Linked DNA regions of Homo sapiens: all the other regions are linked to region 1. The links are contacts of gene promoters, found by promoter capture Hi-C in human tissues and cell types (Jung and others, 2019). All regions are on one chromosome and are shown on one strand. The core of a region is centred on a gene start or on the middle of the fragment in contact, and the rest is flanking DNA. Distances in the headings are between cores, read along the strand shown.

Region 1 (2,841 bases), core at 161-2,660:
AGTTAGCATATAAACAAGAAAAGAAGAAACTTTGATCTATAAATGAAGAAAAATGGGTTTTGATAAGCTCTCTTTGACAGGTCACCCTCCTTGGGCTTCAGAGTTATAAAAAAATCGATACGTGAGATTAGAGATGTGACAGTATTTCTAAATTTCTGTTTCCAACCGTTTCATGACTTTTCATTTCCTCTAGAAAAGACATAGGATATTAATATAATAAGATTTGCAATTTGTTAAATATCAAATGAGTCAACAAATATGAAGCTTCAAGGAAAAGGTGACAACAGGTGGTACCAGACATCTGAGCTGCAGAACAAAGATGGTTGTAAAGTGCACAGAACTGTTACAAAGCCTTAAGAGCTACTATAATCCATGATTATTAAATAACACCACATACTATTTCAATTAGCATTTGCCAAGCTTGCTTTCCTTGTCATTGGATTAAAAATTATACCCGGATTTTCAAGTGTATTCTATTTGTGACAATATGCATTGATAATTTCTCTCCTCACACTGCTGCACTCTCACCTCCGTTCCCAGATTAGCTCCTGGAACTCGAGATATTTTTGTGGCTAGAGATTGCTTTCTTAATGTTAGATTTTCCTTACAATTCCATATATAGTCAAGCATTCCATGCATGGTAGTTAATTGTTTGCTTAATTTGGCAACTGGGATATTAGAATTATGTATCATTAGGCAGTGATATTTTTGTAAGGTTGTTTGCTAGATAGATCCTATTTCATTTATATTAAGTCTTGGGAAGATAAACTTTATTTTTCCAGAGCCTAGCAGTGACTGACACATATTCGAATGAATGAAGGTAGATAGAAAATGTCTATATTCATTTACGTAATGATTAGTTAAGGAGAAAAGTACTTCCCAGCATAAAGATTTCTGGCAACCCTTTGCTTATTTGACTTTTCCCTTCAGGCAAGTTCAAGGCTTGTGAAATTCCTAGAAAGGCGAGGGGAGAGAACGCGTGACACAGAAAGGGGCCGGAGTTCGGGACCCTACGCAGTTTTGGGACGTTATGGGCATGGAGGGAAATGTTTGCTTTGGAGGCTTTGGGTAAGCTAGGGATCCGACAAGCCCTGGGCGCAGGGAGGAACGCTGCCCTCCGGCCTCCAGTCGCGCTCCCCGAAGCCCAGCGCCAGCGTCGCGCAACCTGCCGCAGGGGCGGCTCCCGGGCCAGGCAGCCAGGCGCGCCCTCGCCCCACCCGGGAACGCCAGGCCCGCGCAGGGAGGGGCGGGGCTCCATGGCGGCCCCGCCCCGCCGCCCGGAGGGTCACAATGTAGGGTTAGGGCGGCCGGCGGGCGGGGCTCTGCGGGGGAGGAGCCGCCGGGCGGGGGCGGGGATGGCGCGTGGGGGAGGGGAGGGAGGAGGACTCGCGGAGGGAGGAGGACAACGCCATTCCGGGCGGCCGCTCCCTCCGTCCCCTCTCTCCCTTCCCCAAAGCAGCCCGCGGACCGGCAGCAAAGGAACGTGCGAACGCGTGACGCCGCCCGACTGGCTCGCGCTCTCCCGTGCCCCGGCGTCCTCCGCCCGCTCATGGCCCGGGCCGCCGCGGACGAGCGGCGCTGAGGCGGGCCGCGTGGAGACGTGAGGCGGCCGCCGTGGCCCTCACAGTCGGCGTTTCGCCGCCTGCCCGCGGTGCCCGCGCACGCCGGCCGCCATCGCCTTCGCGCCTGGCTGGCGGGGGCGCTGTCCTCCCAGGCCGTCCGCGCCGCTCCCTGGAGCTCGGCGGAGCGCGGCAGCCAGGGCCGGCGGAGGCGCGAGGAGCCGGGCGCCACCGCCGCCGCCGCCGCCGCCGCCGCGGGGGCCATGACCGTGGAGCAGAACGTGCTGCAGCAGAGCGCGGCGCAGAAGGTGAGGCGAGTCCGCCAGCCGGCGGGCCCCACTTCTCCTTCCGACGGGCTGTCCTCTCCCGCTGCGGCCGGGCGCCCCGGCCTCGCCGCCGCCGCCTTCCCGGGCTTCCTCCCCGGTCACCCCCGGCCCCTGCCCATCGCCTCGGGGGCGTCGCGCCCAGAGCCCAGCTGCGTGTGGGAAGCAGAGTGTAGTTTGCGGGCTTCAATCCACTTCCTTCTGCCGATTGTTTTCCCGTAGCAGACGGTGCCAGGTATTGAGAGCGACCCTCACATTCCTACAGTGCTCTGTGTGGCATCTTAATGAAACTTTATTCTCTCCCCTTAAATGAGAAAGAATAGCTAGTTGTCATCCTTTCTGAACCGATTTTGTCTTTCAAAGGTAGTAGTGTACCAGGCCTGCTATTTTGCAAAACGGTCTCCACCAAAATCGAATTACCTGCCTCGCGGGGCAGGCGTGTTGACCAGGTGGACTCTAGAAGTAGGTGGTTTGCTTGGTTTCTTTTCCTTTTAAGGTTTCCCTTTCTTCTTCTTCTTTTCTGTTTTTTTTTTTTTTTTTTTTTTTTTCAATATAGAAACTGTCCCTAAGAGAGGAAACCTTTCTGGCCATGTTATTCCAGGAATCTTTTGTCCCCTAAGTTTGACCTTGTTCTTTCGTTCACCCTTTACTCTTGCATCAGTCACACATTCAAATGGTCACTCACTAAAGAAAACAATTAAAAAACTGTTTGTGAAACTTTATATCTTTAAAGTGAATAGAGATCATTCTGCTATTTTAGATTTTGCTTTCAGAATCTTAAGTGCACTATCATGGCTTGCACCATGTTCTGAAGAGTAGTTGGCCATGATTTAACTTCTTTTTTTAATTTTTAATTTGCGTGAAAAGCATTTTGGGCAAAAGAGTAAACCGTGCCTTAGTTGTGTTGGTATTACGGGGACAGTTAGGGTTTACTGTGATCAACCACCAGAGTTATGTTT
Region 2 (3,069 bases), core at 298-2,797, 840 kb before region 1:
AATACAATACTAACAGTTATTATACACTTATAATGTGCCAGGCACCTTCTAAGCTTATTTTGTTTTATAATTCAGTGTATAATATATGTTAATTTTCATAACATCAAGGAATAGATAATTTCTTTATTTCCATTCTATGAACAAGGAAACTGAAATTAAACAACTCCGCCAGTAGCATGCCACTAGCAGGTCCAACATCCAAATCCAGAGATGATCCAGCATTATGATGCAAAATATACCAATGGCGCTATTCTCACTTAACAGAGACCATTTGGAAAGAAGTAATAAAAGGATATGAACTGAACACAGTTACAGAATCACAGACTCCTAAGGCCAAAACGAACTTCAATATCCTCTAGTTTTTCTTGCCCAAAATATCAATCCAAGAAATTAACTGGTTACTTATTAAAAGTAGACAGCCAGGAAAAAGGAGAACTGAATATTTCAAAACAAATAGTCCAAATGGACAAACAAGCTCTGAACAGAGCCACTTTTAGAAGGAGGAGAGAGAACGTTAAGGCATTTATGAATAAAAGGCAGACTTCTTTAGAAGGAGTCGCCATATTGGCTCACTACAACTCCGCCTCCCGGGTTCAAGTGATTCTCCTGCTGGGATTACAGGCGCCCCCCACCACGCCCGGCTAGTTTTTGTATTTTTAGTAGAGACGGGGTTTCACCATGTTGGTCAGGCTGGTCTCAAACTCCTGACCTCGTGATCCGCCCGCCTCAGCCTCCCAAAGTGCTAGGATTACAGGCGTGAGCACGCGCCTGGCCACAAAATGCAGACTTCTAAAGTAGAAGTCCAGCTTGGCCAGATAATAGACTCACTAGCATATAAACTGCTGGAAGCTAATGTAGGAGGTCAGGAAGGAATGATAAGGTTAGAGGAACCAAAGCCCAGAGAGGGTTTTTGTTTGGTTCTTTGGCAGCACTTAACTCTAGGAAGTGATGGGGAAATTCTAATTTCTGAGAATGTTTTTCAAAAGGATGACAGAGATTAGAGCTTCCAGTGAAGAAAATATTGCTGCAATCAAAGAAAGCAAAGTGCAATAAAGCCCTCAGGCCAGACGGAATTTATCTAAGTATTCTGGAGAAAATAAGGTGTGAAACAGCAGAGACTGATGAGGACATATACTATGACCATTAAAATAACAGCTGTTCCTGAAGACTGTCCAATTTTTAACACAGTATCTATGGTTTTTTTTGTTTTTGTTTTGTTTTGTTTTGTTTAAAGGAAACCAAGAGAAATCCCAAGAATTCAGACAAATGAACTTTGTCTTGGTGCTCGGATACTGGTTGGGGGAAAAAGTCCGATGATTGTGCCAAGTAGAATCTGAGAATTGAAACTTGACAGGCCCCCATCAACTCTGCAGGAATAGAGATTTTTACCTCTCCAAGCTTAAAATTGATAATAAGTAATACAGAGATACACCATGCACTTGCCCTTTTAAAAAGTTTGAAAATGAAGAAACAAATGCTTTCTTGGATCTGAAACTAGCTAGAGAAATTAGAATCATGTATAGTGTATGCTTAGGCCAAAGAGAAGAGATTAGCTATAGCACTCCTGGAATCTGATGTTGGAATGAAATGTAATTTCACCTGCATTTTTTAAATAATTAGGGAGTATGTGTGAGTCACAAGCAATTGACTCTCACATGATTGACACTCTGTGGGAGCAAGCAGTGAAAAAGAAATGGTGAGCACCTGATCCTATGATAATCATCACTAGCATTTATTGAATGGTTACTACGTGGCAGGCACACTGCTTAGTGTTTGACATCCATTATCTCAATTATTCTCAGTCTGTGAGTGATGGTATAAACTACTTCAGAAACATCTGCTGTTTCAGAAAGAAAATGCTCTAAGGTGTAGGGCAGATTATCAGCCAGGGTCACAGTTCAGATGAGTTCCAAAGAAAGCTTATCTAAAATATTCTGATGAAAATGTGGCTTCCATTTAAAACCGAATGGGGGCCAAGAGAATTGTAAAGGAAACTCGAGGATGCAATCTATTCTCTGCCCCTCAATCCCTGAGCCAGCCAGGGATACTTATTTTCTCCTAAACCTAAAAATAGTCACGCTAACATTGGTTTCAGACTCTCAGAATCACCAGCTCTGAGACTACAGAGATCTTCTCACTCTTTCCTATCTCCTGGTCCTTAAACCCGCTTCCTTACCTTGCTTCTGTGCCTTGCTAATTATAACTGCTTTTTGTTTGTTTGTTTCCTGATTCCTGTGGCTCAATCTGTGTTCCTAGGGCCTTCATCTGTGGTACCCACCTGGGATTTTAGACTCATGTGGGGGGTCTAAAGCTTTGGCTTAAGTTTAGTCTGAAACTCTCCTAGGCTTTGGTCCACAACCTCCTGCCACCCAACATGGTGCTGACAGGGAGGACAATCTGTAGCCCATGAAGATTAGAGCTATGCTATTAATCAATGATCTTTCCCAACTAAAATACTTAGTTCAGGGCTCTTCGCACAATGCTCAAAGTACTTTCTGTTCAATAAAGGCTTGTTGACTGTATTTACAACACATGCTGTACTATGAACTGCATACCAAAGTCCAAATTACAACATATAACCTCTATGACAAGAACGAGTAAAAAAATAAAACCACAGCCTTGGAGGGATGCCAGATGATGCTGGACCCATGAAAAACTCCAGAGAGGAAACAAAAGGTACTGAACAGAAATGGAGTGCACACACCGTAACCTTGTTCTCTCATCTTTTGTGAACTATGACGGGTCACCTTTGCAAAATTATAAGCCTTTTGAGAGTAGGGTACAATACAGCTTCAACGGCAGGGTGCCTACAGTCCCCATCACTCCTCCTGCCACCAGGGAACTTGCAGGAAGGGAGCTTTCCTGTTAGCTTTCCTCCCTGGTAAAGCACTGACCACAGCCTTGAATGCCACAAAGCCACATTGGGAAAAATATGAAGTTTTGTCCTACCCACATTATATCTGGACAGATAGTTATTTAGAAAAGAATCATTCTGCATTTTATGTATTATAACATTGGCTATACAGGATCTCTCTCTCTCATCACCCAAGTCTGGTTCCTTCCTAGTCT
Region 3 (2,911 bases), core at 338-2,837, 910 kb before region 1:
CTTAAGCTCTCTTGCCTTCTTTCTCTCATTGGCAAATAGGGATAATAACAGTACCTACCTCAAACACTTACGTGTTAATACAGACACAGCTCCTATAACAGTGCCAGGTACATAGGATGTGCTACATTTGATTTTTTATTATTATTTCTGATAAGCTTTCATCATATCTTTAGTGCATTTTCTAATGGCATCTGTTTGTTTTCTTTCATTTGAGGTTCTTTTGGCTTAAGCCAAAAGATAAACAACTGCTTTTCTTTTTTCTTTTGTTTTCCTTTTTTTCTTTTTTTTTACTTTTTTTTGAGACAGAGTCTCTCTCTGTCGCCCAGGCTGGAGTGCAGTGGCGCGATCTCGGCTCACTGCAACCTCCGCCTCCTGGGTTCAAGCGATTCTTCTGCCTCAGCCTCCCAAGTAGCTGGGATTATAGGCCTGTGCCGCCGCGCCCGGCCTGCTGCTTGTTTTTCTATGTTCCTGATGGGATGAGACCTATTTCAGTGAAGCGTTCTTTTTAAAGTAGCAATTGAAAGTCCCCAACATGATGAGTCCACCGGGGTGAATAGTCTTCAACTGAAAGCCAGAGATAAAAAAAGAAATTTCTAAATATTAAAAATGCCATGATGATAACTTTGAAACTTAATTGCAAAAGATGGCGATAGCAATGTCTAAAATGGCAATTGTCTGAAATGAGTGCCAATTAAAGGTCACAGGAACCTACAAAAAGGCTATGAGTGCTCCATTACACATTGCTAATTTGAGTAAATAGGGAAAGCGGCATTTATATGCAAATTGTGCGAAGAGAACATATTGCAAATATATTTCTACAGCTATGTTACCCATTTTCCTACTGCGTGTCTAATGAACAAGGGAGTTCCAGTCTTTATTAATAGCCTGTAGAATTAGCATTTGCTTTACAAAGAAATTGTCAATAAAAGAAAGGGGAGTTCCCAGAAGTTACCCACTCTACGAATCAGCACACTTACTACTAACACATGGATTTCAAAATTGACCAACACAGAATCAGAAACCTGTACCACAGTGTTTTAAACACTTCAGGCATGGAATGTAAAATGAGCACTAGCCGTGTCCTAAGAACAAATGTATTTTGAGCAAGAAAACATTTCAAAACTATCTTTGTTGTGTCCTAATGCTTCAAGCACTTTGGCCAAACAGTCCTACCATGTAAGTATCCCCCCCACTGGGATGCAATGGTTGAGGAAATTTCAAAATAGCTGTATCCTTTTAAGGAAACTATTCCTGTTGTTCGCTAAGGCAAAAGCTTGCGTGTAGATTTGTCTTCAAAGATCTTTGTCAACAGGTGTTAATAAGTTTGTTAATATCACAATTGGCTACTCTTTATGTACATTAAACACTAAGTATTAGAGAATAGAGTGATGATATGTAGAACTTGCTATATAGAATTATTAATTTTCCATTTTTTCTGAGAAGCCTGCTGCCATTAAGGAACATCAGTTGGCAAAAAAAAAAAAAAAAAAAATCACTATCCCCTACAGCACCACTTCTGCGGTAGCTTTCTAGAAACACCAAACGCTACAAGCTTCTTAGGGATGAAAACAGTTTTTTATGCAAACATAGATGAGGGCTTCACTTGGTGCCTTTTCAATTAACAGTTCTCAACAAAACCATTTCTGTACTGATTATTTCTGACTCTCTTCTATTTTGAAATGATTTCTCTGACCAAAATTTATGTTGAAAAAACTCACAAAGATAAAGAAAATGTTACCTGTTTCCATAACACAATTTTTAATAGCATTTTCCTCTAAGATAGGCCAATTGTTTTTTTCTTATAGAATGTATTTCTCATGAAAAACTATTTTAGACATGAGAAGGTATTATTTTTCAAATGAATCATGACAGAATTTTTGTGAAGATGCTACATTACCCATACGAGGAACACTGTTTCACATTTTCCAGGTATTTTGGAATCCTACCTTGAGGAGAAATTCAACAGAAGACACTGTGGTCAGGACCTCTCTAGCTAAATGAAAAATTGACATAATTTTCTTCTACAGACAGCCTTAAAAAAATATTTATTCAATTCTCCAGATAATTTAGATAAAAATGATGTTTGGAGTTTGATTTGACTAAAAATATCACCTTTCCTTCAGCTATTTGACTATATGGACATGACCTCAGATGAACACAGCAGAAATGTGGAGTTTAGGTCAATGAAAAGAAATTAATTTATAAAATCTAGTGTTTCCAATTCTAGTGATGGCTTAGGAAACTTCACTTTCTCTGTTGATAAGAAAAATAATTATTAGTGATAGATTAATAAAATAACTTTAAAACCATGTATTTGACAGTTTAAGTAAAGTTTATGCTGTATAAGTTCAAATTTTACTGCCTTTTTAATAATGTGTAAATCATGTTGACACTTGTAAGAAAAATGTCCATATTATTTTAAGTCCAAATTTTACTGCTTTATCATTTCTATTACGTATTTTGGAAATGGAAATCTTTTGACCTTAAAATAATCAAGTAATAAAATAAAGTAGTAAAAGAAATTGAAAAGCCGTGCATCTGACTCTTTATTTCAAACCATTAAGATGGAAGTAAGAAAAAAATTGATGACTTCTATTCATAACCAATTGAAAAAGGAAGGAAATCTCTCTTTAGCCTGAAAGTGTATATCTAGATGAGAATGACCAAAAATGGATAAGCTCTGGTTGGTCAATATAATGAGTAGTTACTGATGTACTGATATTTTTAATAGCTTAGCCTAGATGGTATTACTTTTGTAAGTTATATGTAAGAAATTATTTGGCTATTCACTAAACTTATTTTCCAAAAAGTGCTTTCTATTTCAGAAGCACTATGTTACAAATACTGTATCATAAAGAAAAATAAGAAAGGATAATGTCCTCTACCTTTGAAATCTCAGTAACATTTTAAT
Region 4 (2,726 bases), core at 140-2,639, 960 kb before region 1:
GGTCTTCACCAGCTTTTGTAACATTTAGAATATCTGGATGATCCTTTTGGCTTCTACAAACAAGCACTCCTTCAGCACATTTGTCTTGAGGGCACACTCACTTTTCTTGTAGACAAGACAGCAAGATCTAATATTTACATAACCTCTGGAAACTAAAAAGAAGTACCTGTCTCTTTCTTTTGTGCTCCTGCTTCAGAAGGATCTTTCTATGTACAGGAAACTTAGCTCACATGGTGCAGGGAAAAGCCAAAAGATAGCTCCACTGCCACAGCTTGGCAGACTTTAATACGTGACATATTGTCAGACCTCAGCACTTACAGGAAAACGGAGTCTTTCAAATGTGAGTTCAGTCCAGCAGTTTTTCATTTTGCAGACAAAGATTATAGATTTAACTCTTTTTATGTAAGGGAAGTATGAAAGGGACTCATAAGTTTATGAACATGATCCACATAGTAGAGTCCCCAGTTTCTTAGAGAAGTCATGCTGACAAGGAGACCTGGAGCAAAGGGGACACGTGGTATATTAGTTTTTCAGCACGGCTGTAATGAAGTACTGTAGACTGGATGGCTTCGACAACAGAAATTTATTTCTCACAGTTCTAGAGCCTAGAAATTTACGCTCAAACTGTCATCAGGGTTGGCTTCTTCTGAAGGCCCCTCTCCTTGGCTTGTAGACGGCAGTCTTCTGGTGTCTTCACCTGGTCTTCTGGGTATGTCTGTGTCCTAATCTCCTCTTCTTATTAGAACGCCAGTCATATTGGATTAGGGTCCACTTCCAATGACCTCGTTTGACATTTAATTACCTCTTTAAGATTGTTATCTCCACATACAGTCACATTCTGAAGTACTGGGGTAAAGACTTCAACATATGAATTTTGGAGGAACATGATTCAGTCCATAACAGGTGAAGTCCAGTTGTTTCAGGAGTATAACCTCATCTATTCATGACTGCCAGTGACCCTCCCAGACAATGCATCAGAAACTTTCCCACTGCTGTCAAGGAACCCTAGAAGAGGTTTATCTTCCAATTATGACCAAAGAGGATAACAGGTGTTTTTGCAAAACTTAGGTGGTGGGAAGTAATACAGCCAAGATAAAGCAAAGTTTCCTGATAAAAAACCCAGTGGCTTTTCTATTGCATTGTACCATCAGTCTTCATTTACAACAGAAAACTCCTCAAGAAATCATATGCACTCTGTCTTTATCAGAGTTAGGATATTCCATTACATTAGAAAATCATTAACTGTTTATCTCTTTGCATTCTCTCCATGCTTCCTGAAGTATCCATAGAATGCAGATGATAATTGTGGCTTAATATCATGTATTTCTTTCACAGAACATAAAAGTTAATTAAAATAAACCTTGACATTTATTGAGTCACAATGTTACAGATGCTGTGCTGAGTGCTTTCCACACATTATCTCAAGAAACTCACAATAACTGTATGAGCTAAATACTACGGTTACTCCAATGTTACAGAAAAGAGAACTGATGTTTAAAGAGATTCAATACCTTACCAATGCCAAAGAACCAGTATGTAGTGGAGCCAGGTCTACCAAAGACTATGCCAACTGCCCCTCTGATAGTGATTGTCTTCTAAATATAGTAAGCAAAACCTCTGTCATAGAATGAAGAAAAGTGACAACATCATTCATGAGTTCCCGTATATGATGAACAAATATGCTGGCAAAATCCACTACAATTTTTGTATTATTATATAATATAAGGACAGGTCATCACCTTATCATTACAAAGTTTGTTTCTGTATGTGAAATATTTCATGGGCTTCTAAAGGTGTGAAGCCTCTTTCTGTAACATACCAGAGTATAAGATTCTCTGTTTTTAACAAAGCATCACCTTCATATATTAAAATGAAATTAATCGTAGAACGTAATCTTCAGACAAATGACCACGTACTCTGGAATCCAGGTCCAAATCACTAACGTAATGGCTATAGCTGCATACTTCTAAGAAAGTGGAAAAAAGTTATGGGCATTTTCAAGAGAAAAACATTAGTGTCAAGTACCGCTTTAGCGAGGACAAAGAGACATCTCTTATCCTGAAAGCAAACCTAGACCAATTATTTTTCATGAACAAAAATTAAGCCATAACACACTAGTAAACTTCTTGCTAGGAAAAAACAATTAATATTTGAATAACGCTATAAATTCCTACTGATCTATTTCAAGTAAACTATTACCACTTCCTAGTAATATTTTTTTTTATTTATCTAGTAGGCTGTGGAGAGCAGCTTCTGTCTTTTCTCATCAAGCCTTAAGTTGAAACAACGCTGTCTGCAAATTCAGCGCCAAGACTAGGACTCCAGCTTCATTGAAAACCGGGAGGTCTGCTGGAAGCACCTCAACACTTATCCTCATCCTAAACTCTGGAGAGGCACAGCACCCTCTGCTGGTTAAAACCCTGGGGCTACAGCACAAATACCCTTCAAAGAAATGAAATAAAGATTTCATATAACCCTGTGCTGCAAAAACGTTCCACCAGCAGATTGGCACTAAAAGAAATGTTAAAAGAATTTCTTTTGGCACAGAAAAATTATACCAGATAAAAACTTGAATCTACACAAAGGAATGAAGAGCACCGAAAATGGTAAATATATGAATAAATATAGAATGAGATTGTCTTCTTTTTTAAGTTTCTTAAAAGATAATTGGCTCTCTGCTCCTTTCTGTTCCACAAACAGCCATGTGTTCTTGTGAAGTGCCAGGC

The links. Contacts are between HindIII fragments. The study calls those that stand out against the background at their distance.
Region 2: a contact is called between a fragment that was not itself captured here and the fragment with the promoter of USP25 in region 1, in 1 of the 25 tissues and cell types used here (mesenchymal stem cells).
Region 3: a contact is called between a fragment that was not itself captured here and the fragment with the promoter of USP25 in region 1, in 1 of the 25 tissues and cell types used here (dorsolateral prefrontal cortex).
Region 4: a contact is called between a fragment that was not itself captured here and the fragment with the promoter of USP25 in region 1, in 1 of the 25 tissues and cell types used here (lymphoblastoid cells).

Annotation. Positions count from the first base shown.
Region 1 is chr21:15,728,572-15,731,412 of GRCh38, forward strand. USP25 (ubiquitin specific peptidase 25) reads left to right here and starts at 1,411. Exons shown (of 26, transcript NM_001283041.3): 1 at 1,411-1,867. The coding sequence starts at 1,823. RefSeq lists a silencer at 1,016-1,975. The HindIII fragment of the contact is 10,815 bases long and covers 1-2,841 here.
Region 2 is chr21:14,886,727-14,889,795 of GRCh38, forward strand. All of the region lies in intron 1 of ASMER1 (adipocyte associated metabolic related lncRNA 1), which reads right to left. Among named protein-coding and RNA genes, the nearest start is that of ASMER1, 30 kb to the right of the region's middle. The HindIII fragment of the contact is 3,238 bases long and covers 1-3,069 here.
Region 3 is chr21:14,819,467-14,822,377 of GRCh38, forward strand. It overlaps ASMER1 (adipocyte associated metabolic related lncRNA 1), which reads right to left. Exons shown (of 4, transcript NR_146322.1): 4 at 1-2,911. Among named protein-coding and RNA genes, the nearest start is that of ASMER1, 98 kb to the right of the region's middle. The HindIII fragment of the contact is 3,318 bases long and covers 1-2,911 here.
Region 4 is chr21:14,771,559-14,774,284 of GRCh38, forward strand. No RefSeq gene overlaps it. Among named protein-coding and RNA genes, the nearest start is that of ASMER1, 150 kb to the right of the region's middle. RefSeq lists an enhancer at 904-1,073. The HindIII fragment of the contact is 4,738 bases long and covers 1-2,726 here.